Linked DNA regions of Homo sapiens: regions 1, 2 and 3 are each linked to region 4. The links are contacts of gene promoters, found by promoter capture Hi-C in human tissues and cell types (Jung and others, 2019). All regions are on one chromosome and are shown on one strand. The core of a region is centred on a gene start or on the middle of the fragment in contact, and the rest is flanking DNA. Distances in the headings are between cores, read along the strand shown.

The links. Contacts are between HindIII fragments. The study calls those that stand out against the background at their distance.
Region 1: the fragment with the promoter of HK3 here is called in contact with the fragment with the promoter of SNCB in region 4 in 2 of the 25 tissues and cell types used here (IMR-90 fibroblasts and mesendoderm cells).
Region 2: a contact is called between a fragment that was not itself captured here and the fragment with the promoter of SNCB in region 4, in 1 of the 25 tissues and cell types used here (dorsolateral prefrontal cortex).
Region 3: the fragment with the promoter of ZNF346 here is called in contact with the fragment with the promoter of SNCB in region 4 in 2 of the 25 tissues and cell types used here (heart left ventricle and mesenchymal stem cells).

What each region holds. Positions count from the first base shown.
Region 1 is chr5:176,897,955-176,900,654 of GRCh38, forward strand. It overlaps HK3 (hexokinase 3), which reads right to left and starts at 1,392. Exons shown (of 19, transcript NM_002115.3): 1 at 1,313-1,392. RefSeq lists an enhancer at 2,212-2,700. The HindIII fragment of the contact is 11,300 bases long and covers 1-2,700 here.
Region 2 is chr5:177,038,559-177,041,258 of GRCh38, forward strand. It overlaps ZNF346 (zinc finger protein 346), which reads left to right. Exons shown (of 7, transcript NM_012279.4): 2 at 2,568-2,671. Among named protein-coding and RNA genes, the nearest start is that of ZNF346, 17 kb to the left of the region's middle. RefSeq lists a silencer at 132-181. The HindIII fragment of the contact is 3,815 bases long and covers 1-2,700 here.
Region 3 is chr5:177,021,286-177,023,985 of GRCh38, forward strand. ZNF346 (zinc finger protein 346) reads left to right here and starts at 1,411. Exons shown (of 7, transcript NM_012279.4): 1 at 1,411-1,628. The coding sequence starts at 1,454. It also overlaps a transcript of UIMC1 not described here. RefSeq lists enhancers at 1,115-1,652, 1,176-1,225, 1,653-2,189 and a silencer at 1,626-1,775. The HindIII fragment of the contact is 9,260 bases long and covers 1-2,700 here.
Region 4 is chr5:176,629,267-176,631,966 of GRCh38, forward strand. SNCB (synuclein beta) reads right to left here and starts at 1,268. Exons shown (of 6, transcript NM_003085.5): 1 at 1,014-1,268; 2 at 268-397. The coding sequence starts at 388. It overlaps EIF4E1B (eukaryotic translation initiation factor 4E family member 1B), which reads left to right and starts at 1,409. Exons shown (of 9, transcript NM_001099408.2): 1 at 1,409-1,798. MIR4281 (microRNA 4281) reads right to left here and starts at 234; the gene lies at 173-234. RefSeq lists a silencer at 1,180-1,449. The HindIII fragment of the contact is 9,216 bases long and covers 1-2,700 here.

The sequences.
Region 1 (2,700 bases), core at 142-2,641, 270 kb after region 4:
CCCACAAAGCTCTTCTGTTCTCCACCTTGACTGGAGACATCGAAGTGTGCTCACTCACACGGCCGTTCGGGCTGCCTGCGCGCATCCCTCACCCTCACCTCCTCTATGCAATTGGATCTCAGGCTCTCTAAGAGCTCTCCTCTGCATCCCCTCCTCCCCATTCCCACACACTGCACCAGACCATCCTCCGGCCTGATTATTACAACAGCCTCCTAAACTGATAGCTCTGCTTCTAGTTTCTTCACCTCCTTACCCCACCCAACTTGATCACCTCTGCACTCATGGCCGGCACAGGGTCTGGTATAGGTATGTGCTAATGTGCCTTTCCAAAATTGGAAGCAAGGGGAGTGGGTAGTTTTTTATTTAATAAAGCAACAAATCAGCTTCTGATAAATCTCCCCAAACCATACATACCTATGCTGAGTTTCCAAATCTGTCAAATAGGGGTGTGGAATTCTTGTTCTATGCTGCAGGTCTATTTCAAGGATAAAATGAGGTAACTGGGGCAATTACCTTCGAAAAGGACTAAGGGCTACACACGTGTCTTTCTCAAGGCCCAGCTAGTTCATTTATTCATTCACTCACTCATTCATTCCCTCATCCATTCAATATTTATTCAGCATTTTTACATGACAGAATCTGTGAAGCAATCCCCAAGTAGCCCTAATATTTATATGCTAGGTAAATGTATTCAGCTCTGTCTCTTCCCACTGAGATTCCCTGTGGGGAGGGACATGTCTCCTTCACTGCAGTATCCCCAGAGCCCAGGGTCTGTTTGCCTAAGGGCCCCGTGGCTTCCCTTAGCTGAATGGGCTACACGAAGTGAGTTTTCCTCCTGAAAAGTACCCCAGGGACCTCTACTGATGTTGGGAGCTGCCATCGAGAACCAGCTGGCAGGCTGGGTGTGGTGGCTTGCACCTGTAATCCCAGCACTTTGGGAGGCTGAGGCAGACAGACTGCTTGAGCCCAGGAATGTGAGACTAGCCTGGGCAACATGGCAAAACGCCATCGCTAGAAAAAAATAACAAAAATTAGCTGGGTGTGGTGGTGTGCGCCTGTAGTCTCAGCTACTCCGGAGGCTGAGGTGGGAGGATCACTTGAACCCAGGAGGTCAAGGCTGGAGTGAGCCCTGACTGTGCCACTGTACTCCAGTCTGGGTGATAGAGAGAGAGACCCCATCTCAAAAACAAAGAAAGAGAACCAGCTGGCTTAATCTTTCCAGTGTCCACTTCCCCTGGTGTGAGCCAAACAGGAGGGATGAGGACAAGACAGCTGTGGAAGGAGCAGGCAGTAATTAGACCGAAGTGCTTACCTGGGACACAGAGAAGCTAGTCACTCTCCTCAGGTCTGAGCTCTTGTCTGGCAATATGAGGCACCCCAATGACCAAAAGCAACACTCAGGGGTGACCCGAGTTATAATATCCTCAAGCCCCACCCTTTTCCTCCACCACCACTTACCAAACATCAGCTAATTCAGGAAGCTGCACTTCCTTCCAAGCCTGCCCTAAGAGTAGCCCAGGCTAGGCAAGGCTGTGGTGAAAACTTGAGCAAGATGATTACCGCGAAGTGGAGCGTTGAACTGGGTCTAAGATTTTGGGCCATTCCCTCTACAATGCTGAGGGCTGTTTATTTTGCAAATATAGTGAGTTCTGAGGTGGTGGCTCGCCCCTAGAAGGAGCTGGAGGCGCCTAGCCTGGAAAGGTTATGGTAAGTACTTTTGAGCAAGAGGCAATGTGGGAGCACAAGCGGAAGGGACTGACTCTGCCGAGAGTGGGCAGGGCTAGCTGAAGAAGCTGAGTCTTGAAGAAAGAACAGCAGTATGCTGACAAAAGTGGTCCTTGACAAAGTGGAGAGCATGTGCACAACCACAAATCACACACACACAGCAATGAGGTGCAGCTCCAGGCGCCTGAAGAGGGTACACCAAGGTAGGAATATATAGTGGGAGAGGAGGTGACAGGCAGACTGCGGAGTCTAGCCTTTAGTCTGTAGCCTGCGCAGGGAGAGTAGGTTCACATCTTAGGTCTTCTCTACTGGAAGAAGGGGAGTGTTAGGCTGCTGTGGAGCTATTGGCGAACAAGCTGTTTTTCTGTGGGAATTTCTCCTCAAAGGCACAGAACCTTGGGGCACCAATGTAGAATACTAGACAGCCTGCAACAATCTTTGTTGAAGGCATGGATACACTTTAAAGCTTCAGGCTGCCTTGTCAGCAGTAACTCTATCCACAGATAGTAGGCCTCCACATGACATCAGGATGGAGACCAGAGATAGTGGCTCCTCTATCAGTAGTGGCATGAAGAGGCCAGGAAACATGCCAAACATCAGTCCTGCTGTGAAGTTTACTGGGTACCAACCAGGCATATAGGCTGTGAAAGGCAGGGAAGTGGGGGATGGGGTGGCAGAGGGTAGAGTGGCTGTCACAAACAACACAGCATCCTGCCTAGCCTGGGATCCCAGTCCCTTTCAACTTTGTTCAGTTGGGAGAGGAGAATGTGGAACTGACTATGAAAGGCCCAGCTGTGATTCATGCAGATAGCCTGCCATTTCTTGAGCCAGGGTGAGGATATGCCCCTGACAAGCATGGCCAGGGCTCTTCATCTGCGTTTCTGGAAGGTCTGTGTCCAGACCCCAGGAGCAGGGGTCCTGGTTCCCTAGTCAGAATGCCAGGGAAAGTCTGGGTCAAGGCCAGTGGAGGGAGAA
Region 2 (2,700 bases), core at 22-2,521, 410 kb after region 4:
AAGTGCAGTGTTGACACAAAGCACGTATTATAAATATATTTGTGTGGACTATGTGAATGTACTCTCTAAGGCCAGAGAGTGCATTCCAGCAGAGAGGTACATTTATTTAGCAGGTGCTTACCTGCCCTTGCTGTGGGTTTGGGAGTCTGATTCTGAATATGCTTGAAACCTCATCTCTTGAACAAAACAAAATCCACAATCTCCAGGTGAGGAAGTGATGACTGAACTCTGACCCCTGGGTATTACCTTCCCCATGTGGGTTTCTTATTGTGAGAAGCCTCTGACCCTCTTTTTTTTCTTCTTTTTTCTTCTTCTTCTTGTGTGTGTGTGTGTGTGTGTGTGTGTGTGTGTGTGTGTCCGAGTTTTGCTGTTGCTCAGGCTGGAGTGCAATGGCACAATCTCGGCTCACTGCAACCTCTGCCTCCCAGGTTCAAGTGATTGTCCTGCCTCTGTCTCCCAAGTAGCAGGGATTACAGGCATGCTTCACCACACCCGGCTAGTTTTGTATTTTTAGTAGAGATGGGGTTTTACCATGTTGGCCAGGCTGGTCTCAAACTCCTGACCTCAGATGATCCACCCACCTTGGCCTCCCAAAGTGCTAAGATTACAGGCATTACCAATCGTGCCTGGCCACCTCTGACCCTCTTTTAAAAGTTCTGGGCCAATTTTGTTTATAGAGTCATTTCTCTTGGTTTTTCAGAGCATAGCTAAGACAGGCAAGGTCTTTCACAAAAATTTACCATTTAAAAGAAAAATGCAGAAATAAAAAGAGATCATTAGGGGCAGAAATACAGCCCTTCTGCCTAAAAGGGCTGACATAGGTAAGCTTTAGATTTTGTGGATTAAGGAGAGACATCTTAAAAGCTCCCCACCAAGAACCTCTTCCAGGGCATCGACTTTTTTTTTTTTAAGACAGGGGCTTGCTCTGTTATCCAGGCTGGAGTACAGTGGCACTAACATGGCTTGCCATAGCCTTGACCTCCTGAGCTCAAGCAATCCTTCTGTCTCTGTCTCAGCCTTAGCCTCCCATGAAGCTGGAACCACAGGCATGTGCCACCACCCCCGGCTAGTTTTTGGTTTGTTGGTGTGTTTGTTTCTATGTAGAGACAGAGTCTCACCATCTTGCCCAGGCTGGTCTCAAACTCCTGGGCTCAACCCATCCTCCCACCTCAGCCTCCCAAAATGCTGGGATTACAGGTGTGAGCCACTGTGCCTAGCCTTGACCACTTTTTGGCTGAGACCAGGAGATTAAAAATGTGGGCCTGCCCTCCTCTCCCAGTTTTAGACTCTGCCTCTGCCTCTGCCTCACATTGCCAGCGCCATGATAGAACTCATGCCTTGGCCGGGCGCGGTGGCTCACGCCTGTAATCCCAGCACTTTGGAAGGCCAAGGTGGGTGGATCACGAGGTCAGGAGATCGAGACCATCCTGGCTAACACGATGAAACCCCGTCTCTACTAAAAATACAAAAAAATTAGTTGGGCGTGGTGGTGGGTGCCTGTAATCCCAACTACTCGGGAGGCTGAGGCAGGAGAATGGTGTGAACTTGGGAGGCGGAGCTTGCAGTGAGCCGACATCATGCCACTGCACTCCAGCCTGGGTGACAGAGCGAGACTCCCTCTCAAAAAAAAAAAAAACAAACAAAAATGAACTTATGCCTTGGGAGAGATTTTACCTCCTCTTCTCTTCTCAAAAAGGTAAGACTGTTCTCCAGGCACAATAATTTAAGCACAGGTTAATACCATGTTTCATATAGTGTGGCACTTATATAATACGTTATGTGATTTTATTTTATTTATTTATTTAGAGACAGAGTCTAGCTCTGTCACCCAAGTTGGAGTTAGTGGCACAACCTCAGCTCACTACAACCTCTGCCTCCTGGGTTCAAACAATTCTCCTGCCTCAGCCTCCCGAGTAGCTGGGATTATAGGTGCCTGCCACCACACCTGGCTAATTTTTGTATTTTTAGTAGAGACAGGGTTTCACCATGTTGGCCAGGCTGGTCTCGAACTCCTGATCTCAGGTGATCTGCCCACCTCGGCCTCCCAAAGTGCTAGGATTACAGGCGTGAGCCACCACGCCCCACCCTGTTATGTGATTTTAAATGTTTCAAAGTCAGATCAAGAACAATGAGAAAAGTATTCCTTTTTCGAGTCTTTCAGTCCTCCTGATTCTATCTGGGAAGAAGTTTCAGTTGGGTGCTACCATATCTTAAAACCTCTCAGCACAGTTGCTGTTCTCTTCTTCCTGGGGAATGCTCCAAGCCTCATTTTTATCATATTTATTTTTATTGGTATCTGCTTAAGTTTATGATCTAAAGATTCCTTTTTAAAAGAAGTTCCTAAGTAAAGAAAGTTGGCATACATAAAATTATAAAATAAGTAATAGTGTAGGTGGTGTGAGAACACAGCATGAGTCACGGTGGCAGTAGGAAAGGCTGGCTGAGGTCTGCCAGTGTCCTAGTATGGCATCCCATCATTCAGTGCCTGTGTTTGAGGCAGGGTTCAAAGGCAGTGCTGTTGAGGTAGTGTTTGTCAACTCAATGATTTCTTGTTTTCCCCTCTATAGTGGAGCACATGATCCAGAAGAACCAATGTCTCTTCACCAACACCCAGTGTAAGGTTTGCTGCGCCTTGCTTATTTCTGAGTCCCAGAAGCTGGCACATTACCAGGTATGCCATCATACTTTTAGAACTGCGTT
Region 3 (2,700 bases), core at 161-2,660, 390 kb after region 4:
TTAAAAAAAGAAAGAAAAGAAAAGAGACAAAAATCCCTGCCTTCCTGGGGCTTGCCTTCTAGTCGGGAGACAGACAATAAGCAAGATAAAAGGTAAAATATAAAAGAAATAAAGCAGGAAAGAAGGACATGAAGTGTGTGTGGAAAAGTAACATTTTAGATGGGATAGCCAGACAAGGTATTTTAGATAGAGTAGCCAGAGAAGGAAGTGGGAGACTGAGCCATGAAGATATATGAGAGAAATTCACCCCAGGAGGCCTGGATAACTGGGACAGGAATTAAGGAGTTGGGGACTGAGTAACACATCAGGATCAGGGAGGTTAAGGGAAGTCAGATTGTACAGGGCCTTGTTGGTCGAAGTAAGGACTTTGGCTTTTTTTTTTTTTAGTCGGAGTTTCGCTCTTGTTGCCCAGGCTGGGGTGCAATGGCGCCAGCTCGGCTCACAGCAACCTCTGCCTCCCGGGTTCAAGCCATTCTCCTGGCTCAGCCTCCGAGTAGATGGGATTACAGGCATGTGCCACCACACCCGTCTAATTTTGTATTTTTAGTAGAGACGGGGTTTCTCCATGTTGGTCAGGCTGGTCTCGAACTCCGGACCTCAGGTGATCCGCCCCCCCTTAGCCTCCCAAAGTGCTGGGATTACAGGCGTGAGCCACCGCGCCTGGCCGGACTTTGGCTTTTACTAAGAGTGAGATGGGAAGCTGTTGGAGGATTTGAGAACCTAAGCGTCATGATCTGACTTGTCATAAGAGGATTCCTGGAACTGCTGTGCTGGGAATGCCAGTGAGGTTGCTACTACAATAACCTAGGCAAGAGATGGTGGCTCCCAAAGACACGGGAAGGAGCAGCTCTGGGGTTGGAAGATAAAATTTGGGGTCTGACAGCTACATTGGAGAAGCCTATTAGCCATTCGAGTGAACTGTGGAAGAGGCAACTGGATGTATACAGGTCCGGAGTCTCGGGGAAGATCAGAGCTGGGAGCTGGCACTTGGAACTCAACAAATAGTATGTATTATTAGCAGTAATATGGAACCTTAGCTGTACTACTACTTACTAGTAGCGAGCTCTTGAGTTAACCATTTTTAGGTTCTGGGCCTCAGTTTCCCTGTGAATGAAATGGCGAAAACACTCCCACATAACGGGACCTTGAGAACGAAATGAAAAGTATCAAGGGCTGACCGTGAGCAAGGTGAGAGCCATGAGCCAAAACCACACGAGCCTCTCCGGGAGGGGGGGGTCACTGCTGCGGAATCAGCGACAGGTTTCCGAATCCACGGCACACGCTCTGAGGTACCAGAGGTAGCAAAGCAAAATAAGCGCGGGGTCCCGCACGGCAGCGCGGGTGCAGCGCCCAAACCTCGCGAGATTTGTTGGCTGGGCCAAGTACCACCCACCAAATCTCGCGATACCTAGGCGCCTGAGAGGCTCTCTACCGGTGAGGGTTTGCGGGGAAGATGGAGTATCCCGCGCCGGCCACGGTGCAGGCCGCGGACGGCGGAGCGGCCGGGCCTTACAGCAGCTCGGAGTTGCTGGAGGGCCAGGAGCCGGACGGGGTGCGCTTTGACCGCGAGAGGGCGCGCCGCCTGTGGGAAGCCGTGTCCGGTGCCCAGCCGGTGGGTAGAGAGGAAGGTGAGTCGGGGGCTTTGGAGGCAGAAAGCCCCTCGCCCGCTGCGCGGCTCGCGGGGAACTGCGGAAGCGCCGACGGTCACACCCCCTGGCCCGCCTCCTTGCGTGCTGCGCCCCGGGACCCCCAGACTTGTGCTCCCCATCCGGGCGCGGGCACCCCAAGAATCGGGCCCCCAGCGCGCTGAGGGTGAAGGGCCGCTCACGCTCAGGCCCTGGGTTTTCCTCCTCCTCCTTCATCATTCACTACAGCGCAGTTTTTCCCACATTCGAGGACTGTCATCCCTATACTCGTCCTGTCGGAGACCTACAGTCTTTGCCATCCCGGTAAGCCAAGCCGAGTGCCCCTCACCACTCCTTGACTCCCCATCGTCCCAATCTCCAGATTTCCTCCTAGGGCCTCTCGCCTCCCTTCTCTCAAGCCCCACACTTCCGAGGGCTCTGGAAGGCCTTCTCCTTACCCCCTGGGTTCCTCCTGGTCTTGATGACTGAGCCCTGGCTTACCCGTTTTTAGCTCTCTGGCCTCTACTTGCTGGGTCCCTTATTCTAAGGTGGGGACAAGGAGCCTGAGAAACTGGTCTGGGTTTGCTTTGGCTCCAGCTTCTTTGTGTCCTACACTTGACCCAAAGTTGCTGAGAACAGTGTATGCAAAGCCACGTTAGGGGTCACTCCTGGGCCGAAGCGCCCCAGCTTGCTCTGCACTTGACCTGAGACTGGGTAAGATGGGATGAAAGAAAGAGAAGGATGGAAAAGAGCTGTCCTGACCTGCTTGTGTGACTCCCTTCACTGTCCTTTACAGAGCCAGCTGCTTGATGCTAACCCAGATGTACAAGAACTCTATCTGGGCTTCTCTGCTAACCTTGTCAGGTATCTGGAGGGAAATCAGATTTCTCCAGTGATTTGTTTGCTTGCTGAGCAGACTTGTCTTCGAAAGTTTAATATGCTATTTGTGAACTGACTGCCCTGGATAAAATTGGATAAAATTGAAATTTTGACCATATCTAAGGAAGGTACACAGACCTATACCCTGGTATATACTTCTCCAATTTAAAAACAAGTCTAGCCTGTCTCCTAAGTT
Region 4 (2,700 bases), core at 18-2,517:
GGAGGCTGTCTGCTTTCATCACTGCACTGGTCCCTGGCCTTTCAGCTGGAGCCCCCCACCTCATCAGCCCGCCCCGTGTCCCCATTTCCGGATACAGACCCAGGCTTCTATGGGCTGGCTATGTCCCCTATGACCCCTGCTGACCTCGCCCCATCTGCTGACTCATATTCTCCTGCCCAGAACCCCCCTCCCCGGGACCCGGCCCCAGCTCCACACTGTCGGGGGACCCCCAGCCCTGCAGCCCCAGAAACCCCGCCCCTTACCCACCGACGTAGAGGACGCCCTCCTTGGTCTTCTCCGCCGCCTCGGTGACCCCCTGCTTGGTTTTCTCCGCGGCTGCCACAACGCCCTCCTTGGCCATGGACAGGCCCTTCATGAACACGTCCATCCTGGCGGCCTGGGGAGGGCGATACACGGGCACCGGTGCACTGGCCCCGCACTCTCACCCCAGCCCCTCCCGCGGGACGCAGATGCCCCCCTACTCCCGAGACCGCGGCGCCCTTCTGGACCCTGAGCCCCCTCCCGCTTTCCCCCCATCCCACCCCACTCCCCAGTGCGAAGCCTCAGGGCCGCGGAGAGTCCTAGCGTCCTTGAAACCTGGGGACGCGGGAGGGGCCACTGCCTCGGTTATCCGGGCCCTGCAAACTGCAGCCCCGTCGAACCGGAGTGCTGGGTTCGGCGCGAATATCCAGGACCCGCCTGTACACGCACGGCACAGTCACACGGTCATGCACACAAACATACACCACGGACAAGCTCACGTGCACACACAGGACACGCAGACGCTCCAACGCGCACGAATACCCCGACCCACATGGGCGCGGACACACGTCCCCACAGCCGCCCGGGCAGCTGCAAACACCGGAGCATACTCACATACTCCGGGGTGCACACTGACGCGCATCCCCCGGGTCTCCCTCCATTTTCCATCCCCTTCCCCAGCTCCCTCCTGTCGCCCCAGTCCCCTCTCCATCCTCATCCCGTTCCCCATCCCCGGCGCGCGGCCGCCTCACCTGGATGCGGGGCCGGGGCTGGGGATGGAGCGGCGGCTGCGGCGGGCGGACGCGGGGGCTCCGCTAGGCCAGGCCGGGGTGGACCAGGGGCCGGAGGGGGGATAGGGCCGGGATCAGGCGCTCGGGTCGCGGGTCCTGAGCAGGAGCGCAGCAGTGCCCGGGTCTCGGGTGCGTAGCCAGCCACCGCTCGTTCCTCGCGCCCTGCGAGCTCGCGCGCTCCGGCTCCGGCTCCGGCTCCGGCGCTGCGGCAGCTCTGAGCTCAGCGCCCCCGCTGGCGGCCGCGCCGCCCCTTCGGCCTGACTGACAGGGGGCGGGGAGGGTGACAGCGCGTAGCCGATGAGCCTCCCGGGGCGGGCCCGGGACGCGCCCCTGGGGGCCCCGGCCGTAAGACTCGCGTAGTCTGTTGGGAGTTGAGGGAGGGGGACAACGCGGCGTGTGAAGAGTGGGGAAGAAATCACGCGACTGGATTTGGAGTTCTGCTGGGCTCGAATCTCAGCTGTGCTTTTTATTAACCGTGGGACCTTGAGCTACTCGGCTCTCCTTTCTGAATGACAGTTTCCTCCTCTGTAAAACAGGAATGGTTAATTCAACGAATGTTTACTGAGCGCTTAGTCCAGTGGTGCAGGTTTAAGGCTGGAGGCAGCGGAAAAGGAAAACAAGGTTCCTGGTCTCGGGAAGCTTACCATGGGGGTGTCTGTACGCGTGTGTGTTCGTGCGCTCAGTGGTGGAAGACAGGACAGAAAATAAACGGATCAACATCCAAAGCAACAAGGTCATTACAGCTTGTAAGTTGTGAAGGTAACGGTGATGTAACACGGGGACTAGAGGAGGGGTGCTTGAGACAGGGTGCTCAGGGAAGGCCTCTACCAGCAGGTGAATTGTAGCAGAGACTCCAGAGAGGCACCATGACACCACGATGGGTGAGGACAAGATCCATAGAGAGTGCAAGTGCAAAGGCTCCAAGGCAGGACTGTGCTGACAAAAGACAGCGCAGCTGGAGAGCCAGGATGGAGGGAGGTGGAGAACAAAACCACTTTTTTGTGTGCTTACGGTGGGGACTGTCAAAATGATCACAGAATGCCAGGCACACAGTAGGCCCTCAGTTGGTTCTATGATAGAATTATGCCCAAGAAGCTGTAGTATCCCAGAGGAAAGGGACTCTGACAACTTAGGGGAGTCAGGAAAGGACATAAAAAAGAGGTGACAACTGAACTGTGGCCTGACAGGAAGGGGACTATTTCATCGAGCAGGCTAGGGAGAAAGAGAATTTTAGGCTGTGGGTACAGCATGGGCAAAGGCACTGTGGCCAGAAATGCAGGGTGTGTAAGTGACAGGTAATTAGGCGAGGGGGCCACCAGCAGCCAGACTGCAAAAAAAAAAAAAAAGGAAAAAACCCAACCAACCAAACAAAAAACATTCACAGGCCGCTGGTAGAACTGCAAATTGGCGCAGACATTTTGGAAGGCAATCTGGCAATGTTTACCAAGCATAAATGCATGCGCCTTTGGAGCCAACAGCTCCCCTTCCAGGAATTGATCCCGTGCGACTCTAGCCATACATGCACACAAAGATACCTGTGCAAGGATGTTCACTGTAGCATGTTTTTTTGTAGCAAAAAACTGAAAATGATCTAAATGATCATCTGTACAGGACTGGCTAGCTAACTGTGGCACATCCACCCAGTGCA